Linked DNA regions of Homo sapiens: region 2 is linked to region 1. Evidence: promoter capture Hi-C in human tissues and cell types (Jung and others, 2019). All regions are on one chromosome and are shown on one strand. Each heading gives the region's core, a stretch centred on a gene start or on the middle of the fragment in contact. The rest is flanking DNA. Distances are from core to core; before and after follow the strand shown. Region 1 holds the start of ACLY (ATP citrate lyase). Region 2 overlaps WIPF2 (WAS/WASL interacting protein family member 2).

What was found. The method cuts DNA at HindIII sites, captures the fragments that hold promoters and counts their contacts. A contact is called where the count stands out against the background at its distance.
Region 2: a contact is called between a fragment that was not itself captured here and the fragment with the promoter of ACLY in region 1, in 1 of the 25 tissues and cell types used here (spleen).

Annotation. Positions count from the first base shown.
Region 1 is chr17:41,916,997-41,921,179 of GRCh38, forward strand. It overlaps ACLY (ATP citrate lyase), which reads right to left and starts at 1,955. Exons shown (of 29, transcript NM_001096.3): 1 at 1,884-1,955. RefSeq lists silencers at 1,358-1,597, 2,078-2,337. The HindIII fragment of the contact is 39,518 bases long and covers 1-4,183 here.
Region 2 is chr17:40,269,790-40,273,972 of GRCh38, forward strand. It overlaps WIPF2 (WAS/WASL interacting protein family member 2), which reads left to right. Exons shown (of 8, transcript NM_133264.5): 6 at 4,001-4,183. Among named protein-coding and RNA genes, the nearest start is that of CDC6, 16 kb to the right of the region's middle. The HindIII fragment of the contact is 6,236 bases long and covers 1-4,183 here.

The sequences.
Region 1 (4,183 bases), core at 705-3,204:
GCCGGGCGTGGTGGTGCACACCTGTAGCTACTGGGGAGGCTGAGGCAGGAGAATCGCTAGAACCCAGGAGGCGGAGGTTGCAGTGAACCGAGATCCACCACTGCACTCCAGCCTGCCGACAGAGCAAGACTCTGTCTCAAAAAAAAAAAAAAAAAAAAAAGAATATTTGCTCTAGTGGAATCAGCAAATACCTACAAATACCTATCTGGGTTTGGGACCGCTCCCCAGAACGTCTTAGTCTGCCTCCCCAGTAGCTGAATGTGCTGTCAAACAAGTAACAGATGATTGGGCTGAGCTTGGACTCCAGGAACTGTTACTTGGTAACAGCTAAATGTGTAAACCATTTGGGGGAAATCATGCCAAGGAACCTGAAAACACACACATACACACATTCTCTAAGGGAGGGGCCTTATGAGCTGAATGGAGTCTTTCTGCAGACGGGTGAGTGACCCAGGATTGAGTTCACTTTTAGCAGACACTGAGAGAAGCAGCCCACACAGGAGGCTGAATGAAAGAAGCCTGTTCCCCAGAACACGCCCCTGGGACACAGCCAGGGGAAGGGAATCACTGGGGATGCTACTAAGGGTGCCTCTGGGAAAGACAAAAACACTCATTTGAAGGTTAGTATCTGCAGGATTGGGACTTACGTATGTAGGTATTTATTTATTTATTTTTTGAGAAGACAGGCAATCCCTGGAGTAAATTCTAGAGAGGCAGAATTCTGTGAGTGCCCCTTACTGCGGCAGGCATAGTGTCAGAACGGGGATGGAGCCATAAGCTGTCCAGTGTCTGAGGGGTCTTCCCACTACCGCCCCCCAAGCTGTTTAGGAAGGTTTCTAAGAGGTGAAAATCACCCATCTGGGCAAATGAGACCTACCAGCTGTCCCTCACCCCACATTTTAGTTCAGCTGAGCCAGCTGAAAACACAGAGGAAAGTTAAGGGTGGAGAGGAGTAGGCTAGCTGGCCAAACTGTGCTGTGCACTTTTCCTTATCGTCTCTTCCAAAATCCTCTTCCCAGGAAGACCTCCAGGGACCCCATAACGGCAGAACTCGGCACTGCACGGTATCTGCCAAGGTTGGAGACCGCGGCAGGCGCTGGGACTGGCCCATTGCCAGGCTCGACAGGAGGGCGGCGGCAGCATCCTCCAGCCCCTTGAGGACCTTTCCCCGGCCAGACTTGGCGTCAGCTCAAGGGTGGGGTGGCACCCCGGCCATCTGTCACTTAGGGGCTGGACTCGACGATACCTCCAGTGCGAGGAGGGTCCTTGCTGCGAGATTCCAGTCCTCGCGGCGAGACGAGGCGAGGCCTCGGGCACCCTGGGGCAGCCTGGCCCCGCGTGGCCCGCCCCGGAGGCGCGCATAGCTCATTCTCTCCACTTGGGCGTGGAGCTCAATTTTGTACCCACGGAACCAAGAAGGGCCTGAGCCCGGCCAGTGAGGAATCGGAGTGGGACCAGTCGCCACCGCTTTCTCTACTTCCCGTCCCGGCATCCGATGGGGGAACCCGGATGGAGCCAAAAGGCGTCCCGATGAGCCCGAGGAGCCTCGATAGCTGTGCCCGGGAGGGGTGAGGCGCGCCAGGAGGGGGACCATGCAATGTGGCAGAGGCAGAAGAGGCAAGGATGGCGGCAAGCCCCATGCAAACTCCCAGGAACTGGAATATGTGTGTGTCGCGCGGGGGGAGGGGAGGGGCGTCGACACGCGGCCACCGGCCGGGACCCCGGGCGAAGGCTAACCTAAAGCTAAGACCCTCAAAACTTCCGAGCAGGGCGCGTGGGCACCGAGCCCGCGTCGGGGAAGGCGGTTCCGGGTTGGGGGACGGAGGCAGGAAGCTCCTAGGGCGAGCGGGCTCCAGCCAGCGAAAACAGCCTCCCGTGCTCACCTCTGCCGAAGTCCGTGCGCGGCGCTTCTTCCACAGGCCCGACGAACCCCGCAAAATCCGGAGCACCCCAGCAGCCGGTAGCTTCCCGGGATCCGGCTTTTGTCCCGGCCCAGCCGGACTTTTCCCCGCCCCCATCGGCTCGCGGCGAGAACGGCCCCGCGATTGGCCACACGCGTTCCCTAGCCTGAGCGCCAGGGCTCCTCCCAATTCGCTGCTGGCTTGGCTCCGCCCCACGAGGGCGGGCCCCGGGGCCTGCTGGGACTTGTAGTCCCGCTGGCCCATCCACCGCCTCTTGGGAGCCTGCGGGGCCGGGGCGGGGCCCCGGGTGGGGAGATGGGCCGGGCTAGGCTGGGAGGAGAACGCGCGGTGCTGGGGGTTGTGGCCTGATCGCTTGAGGGGCTGGACAGATTGCCACTCGGGGAGTTGGGGGAGGGGCGGGTAGGATTAGCCCAACTGGCTGTAACGCAGCTTTGGGACCTGGAGTACCCTTGCTCCTTCCCTTGGGAGAAACGGACGTCTGCATCTCGGCCGCACCGAATCCGATTGCTTAGACAGTCTCCTTAAGCAGCAGTGTCTGGCAGGCCGCTTTCCTTTAGCACGTGGAGCCTCTCTCCTCCCTGGACTCTCCCCACTGGGCCGATGAGGCAAGGCTGAGCCGAGGCTAACAGAGCATACTTCCCAGTGTGGGATAAGGCAGGGGCCGCGGTAAGCAAGTGGGGCTAGGAGGGTGCAGGCACAGCGCTGTCCGTCCCACTCACCTGCTCGCCTCAGCACGGATCAGGGCGGAGCTAGGAATTCAATGCGAGATTCCAGCGAAGGGCTGGAGCCATCCCAGACAGTCTCTTGTTCCCACCAACCACAGGCTTAGACACTGGAATGAATGAACTGCTGTCTCCCCCTTCTCCATTACCTGAGACAGATCGAATTTTCCAAACCAAAAACTGGGACATCCAATCTGACAGGTGCTGGTGAACTTGTGGGGCAGAATATGTGAAATCAGTCCTGGAAATCAGGACATGTATTTACCACTCTGACATGCTGCAGCCTCCCTCCCTACCTGCACCCCAACCCTGTAGGTCCGGAGCTGCTCCCTAAGCCTAACAGCTGTCTAGCTCCAGGAAGGAGGCCAAAAGCGTCCACTGACCGACTCAGGTGAAGAGGTCAGCCCAGAATGCAGGGAAGCAGCAGGCCTGTCCCCCTGCCAAGCACTTTGGGTCATACTCACACTGCAACAGTGTTGCGACATTTGCAGACAAAATCTTCTCCAAGACCCCCTCCCCCAATCCTGTTGCTGCCAGGAGTAAGGTAACTGAACTTGCTACCCATGCCTGAATCAAGTGTTCCCTGATGATGTCACTTTCTGGTCCCTTCCCTCCCATTCATCTTTTTGAAATAGCAGTTCCTTATCACCTCTCTTCTCTTGTCCTAAAATGGGGGTGGCCAGTCTTGGTGGCTCACACCTGTAATCCCAGCACTTTGGAAGGCCAAGGTGGGGGATCACTTGAGGTCAGGAGTTCAAGACCAACAAGGCAAAACCCCATCTCTACAAAAAATACAAAAATTAGCCAGGCATGGTGGCACACGCCTATAAATCCCAGCTACTCTTGAGGTTGAGGCATGAGAATCGCTTAAACCCGGGAGGTGGAGGTTGCAGTGAGGTGAGATTGCACCACTGCACTCCAACCTGGGTGACAGAGAAGGATTCTATCTCAAAAAAAAAAAAAAAAAAAAAAAGATACACTCCAGGCAAGGCATGCTGTCTCATGCCTGTAATCCCAGAATTTTGGAAGGCCAAGTCAGGCAGATTGCTAGAGCCCAGAAGTTCAAGTACAGCCTGGGTAACATGGTAAGAGCCCCCACCACCACCATCAAATCTCTACAAAAAATAAAAAGACCGGGCGTGGTGATTCACATGCCTGTAATCCCAGCAATTTGGGAGGCCTAGGTGGGTAGATCACCTGAGTTCGAGGTCAAGCGTTCCAGACCAGCCTGGCCAACAGGTGAAACCCTGTTTCTACTAAAAATACAAAAAATTAGCTGGGCGTGGTGGCAGGTGCCTGTAATCCCAGCTACTCAGGAGGCTGAGTCAGGAGAATCGCTTGAACCCAGGAGGCGGAGGCAGGAGAATCGCTTGAACCCAGGAGGCGGAGGCAGGAGAATCGCTTGAACCCAGGAGGCGGAGGTTGCAGTGAGCCGAGATCGCACCAGTGCACTCTAGCGGGGGCAACAAGACCAAAACTCCATCTCAAAGCAAAAAAAAAAAAAAAATTTAGCTGGGCACTGTATCGGGTGCCTGTAAT
Region 2 (4,183 bases), core at 548-3,047, 1.6 Mb before region 1:
AGAGATGGGGTTTCACCATGTTAGCCAGGATGGTCTCTATCTCCTGACCTTGTGATCCGCCTGCCTTGGCCTCCCAAAGTGCTGGGATTATAGGCATGAGCCACTGCACCCGCCAACACTGTCCATTTTTAAGGGAATTTGAGAAAAATAGAAACCATCATACTTTTCTCAAAATTAGGGTTAATCTTGGATTACAAAAGCCTGTCTCCCATCCCAGGACTTCTTTTGGAAATTGTTTTTTAGGGACTGGAGTTCTGGCTCTGTCACTTGAAACAGTCTTAAAACTGGATCTGGGGCCGGGTGCGGTGGCTCATGCCTGTAATCCCAGCACTTTGGGAGGCTGAGGCGGGCAGATCATGAGGTCAGGAGATTGAGACCATCCTGGCTAACACGGTGAAACCCTGTCTCTCTACTAAAAATACAAAAATGAGCCGGGCGTGGTGGCGGGTGCCTGTAGTCCCAGCTACTGGGGAGGCTGAGGCAGGAGAGTGGCATGAACCCGGGAGGCGGAGCTTGCAGTAAGCCGAGATCGTGCCACTGTACTCAAGCCTGGGGGACAGAGCGAGACTCCGTCTCAAAAAAAAAAAAAAAAAAGAAAAATAACTGGATCTGACAAAGAGCCCAGAAGCTTATTGGAGACAGCAGAACCTGGCTGGGATGAGGGAGGGAGCTGGAGAAGCCAAACAGATCACTCTTACCCTGCTCTATTTTGCCATTCCAGGTCGTCTCATCGCTGTCACCTGCCTGGTGTCTAGCTGGTGTCGGTGTCCTTGTGAACCTGGCTAACCCTGTTTACCTTGCTGCCCTGGCCTAGGAGTAGATACAAATTCTCAGGGCCTTGAGGAATCTGGGTTTTAGGGAATATTTTTGAGGGCTTAAAGAAGCTTCTATTCTTAAAGAGCTTTAGTTTGAGTAGATTTGGAATCAAAACAAGGCTCAGAGATCTGCTGGGAGTTACAAGATTTCTCTTTAATTATTGCATCTAGTGTCCCCTGTTTCTACTGAACAAAGCTTGGAAACAGTGAGGAAGAGTTGACATTCTGAGTGTGTCTTACGGGAAGCAAAAACATTTATTGGGCTTATTGTGCCAGATTGTGTGTGTGTGTGTGTGTATGTTATTCTATTACTGTGTTACATGCTTAACTATAGTCACTACAGCAATTCTGATAGTAATCAGGAGGAATAATAAGATACTCTTTTCTTTGAGACAGTCTTGCTGTGTCACCAGGCTGGAGTGCAGTGGCGCGATGTTGGCTTATTGCAGCCTCCATCTCCCAGGTTCAAGCTCCTCCCACCTCAGGCTCCAGAATATCTGGGATTGCAGGCGTGTGCCACCACGCTTGGCTAATTTTTGTACTTTTTTAAAATTTGAGGTGAGGTTTCATCATGTTGCCCAGGCTGATCTCGAACTCCTGGCATCAAGCAATCTGCCTGCCTCAGCCTCCCAGAGTGTTGGGATTACAGATGTGAGCCACTATGCCTAGCCAAGATACCGTTTTACTACTAAAAACAGTTTTGTCTGTTAAGCTGAGTAGTCTCTTCACATACTATTTAGGTCACAACTATTTATTGGGCCACGTGCTGTGGCACATGCCTATAATCCCAGCCCTTTGCTGAGGCGGGAGCATTGCTTGAGCCCAGGAGTTTGAAGCTGCACTGAGCTATGATTCCACCACTGCGCTTTAACCTGGGTGACAGAGTGAGACCCTGTCTCTTAAAAAAAAAAAAAAATTGAACATGGCCTAGATACCAAAAGATGCACTTCCAAGCCACTGGATTGTAAATCTGGTTGGGAAGATACTATGCAGAATACTGGGAGTTACGAAAAGCAGTGTGGGAGAGTAGAAAGAGCAGACATGTGCCTTGCCTATTTTTATTTGATCTGTGACCTTAAACAAATAACCTGAGTCCCAGTTTTCTCATTTGTGAAATGGGGATAATATTACATACTTCGCATGTGTGGCTATAAGACTTTTTAAAGATTTAATACACCGAAAATGCCTGGAACATAATAGATACCCAATAAATGGTAGCTGCTATTATTGTTAGTTAATACAGAGCATAGGAGTAAGACAAACACGTTAGAATCTATTATATTCCAGTCATATTGCCATTTCTTGACACATGCTTTTGACGTTACCTTCTACTTGGTGGCAAATTTTCATCTTTTAAGAGTGAATTTGATTTTTGGAATCACCAAAAAGCAGATTCAGACATAGGTATGAACATTTTCTTTTTTTTTTTTTTGAGGCAGAGTTTTGTTCTTGTTGCCCAGGCTGGAGTGCAATGGCACGATCTTGGATCACCGCAACCTCCGCCTCTTGGGTTCAAGCAATTCTCCTGCCTCAGCCTTCCGAGTAGCTGGGATTACAGGCATGCACCACCACATCTGGCTAATTTTTGTATTTTAATAGAGACTGGGTTTCTCCATGTTGATCAGGCTGGTCTCGAACTCCCGACCTCAGGTGATCCTCCCGCCTCGGCCTCCCAAAGTGCTGGGATTACAGGCGTGAGCCACCGTGCCTGGCATAGGTATGAATATTTTCATTGGTGATGGTGGTGGGGCGACCTCAGAAATGAAATGTGACCATCATATAATAGTGTTTACAGCTCTGACTGATAAACTTGCTTTGGAGGCAATTCCAAAAGAGGTGTTTGCAGTGTTTGAGCAATGAGACTGTTACTGGACATATGTAACTTCCCACAATGAATCTGCTGTATATATTTTGAAAATCGCTCATTGATATTAGAGTAAGTGACATAGCCTGTATATGCTGTGGGAGAGCAGAGGTGGAGGGACTCAGAAGAAAATGGATTGCTTTGGGAAAGCCTTGAGAAGATGGGACTTGGATTGAACCTTGAAGGGTAGGGAGGATTTGGTAGTAAGGGAAGGGGGGATATCAGAATATTGTGAGGGGAGTCACAAGAGCAAAGCATATAATTTGGTTTATTCAGCAAACATTGATTGAGCACCTGCTGTGTGCTGTACATTTGGCTGAACTTGGGAACCCAGAAGGAGGAACTGCTCTGACATCAAGGGGTACACAGTATACTGGGGAAAGAGCACACAGAATAAATAATTATAATAGTCTATTCAAGTGGTAGGTATGCACAAGCTGCAGTGGAAGTGCAGAGGAGGGCTCCTAACCTAGCCTAGCAATAAGAAGGGAAGAGGAGAAGCCAAGCTCAAGCTGATTGGTGTGGTAGGTTACTATGTAAGCAAAGGCTTTGAGACTTTATTTTTTTACTTATTTATGTATTTGAGATGGAGTCTCTCTCTGTTGCCCAGGCTGGAGTGCAGTGGCACAATCTGGGCTCACTGCAACCTCCACCTCCCAGGTTCAAGTGATTCTTGTGCCTCAGCCTCCTGAGGAGCTGGGACTACAGGCACACGCCACCACACCGGGCTAATTTTTTGTATTTTTAGTAGAGATGGAGTTTCATCATGTTGCCCAGGCTGGTCTCCAACTGCTGAGCTCAGGCAATCCTCCCGCCTCGGCCTCCCAAAGTGCTAGGATTATAGACGTGAGCCATCACACCCAGCCACAGTTTGAGACTTTATGATTTAGGCAGTGCAAAGCCTTTGAAAAAACTGGATCAAGTTTTTAGGGAGGTTGGTGAGTTGGTGTTATGCAAAATGAATTTGGAGGGGTAAGAGACAAAGCAAGGAGAACATTCGGAAGGCTTTTGCAGTAGAGAACAGGCTAAATATAAGGAAGACCTGAATTAGAATTGTGGAGGAAGGCATGGAAAAGCAGGAAAAAAATCAAGAACAGATAGGGTTCTGACTGACTGGTAGGAAATGTAAAAAGGCCATACATTTATTCTGAATGTTGGTATCTGGAAGAATGGTGATGCTGTTCAAGTAATAAGGACAAAGGGGAACCAGGCACTGTGAGCCTCTGTGGGGTGTGTTACTCTTTTAGCTCATGTGTTTCAAGTCATTCTACCCCTTGCCGTCTCCACATCCAAACCTAACTACTTTGGATTTTAATTGCAGCTCCTCCACCCCCACCACCTGTGATCCGAAATGGTGCCAGGGATGCTCCCCCTCCCCCACCACCATACCGAATGCATGGGTCAGAACCCCCGAGCCGAGGAAAGCCCCCACCTCCACCCTCAAGGACGCCAGCTGGGCCACCCCCTCCTCCTCCACCGCCCCTGAGGAATGGCCACAGAGATT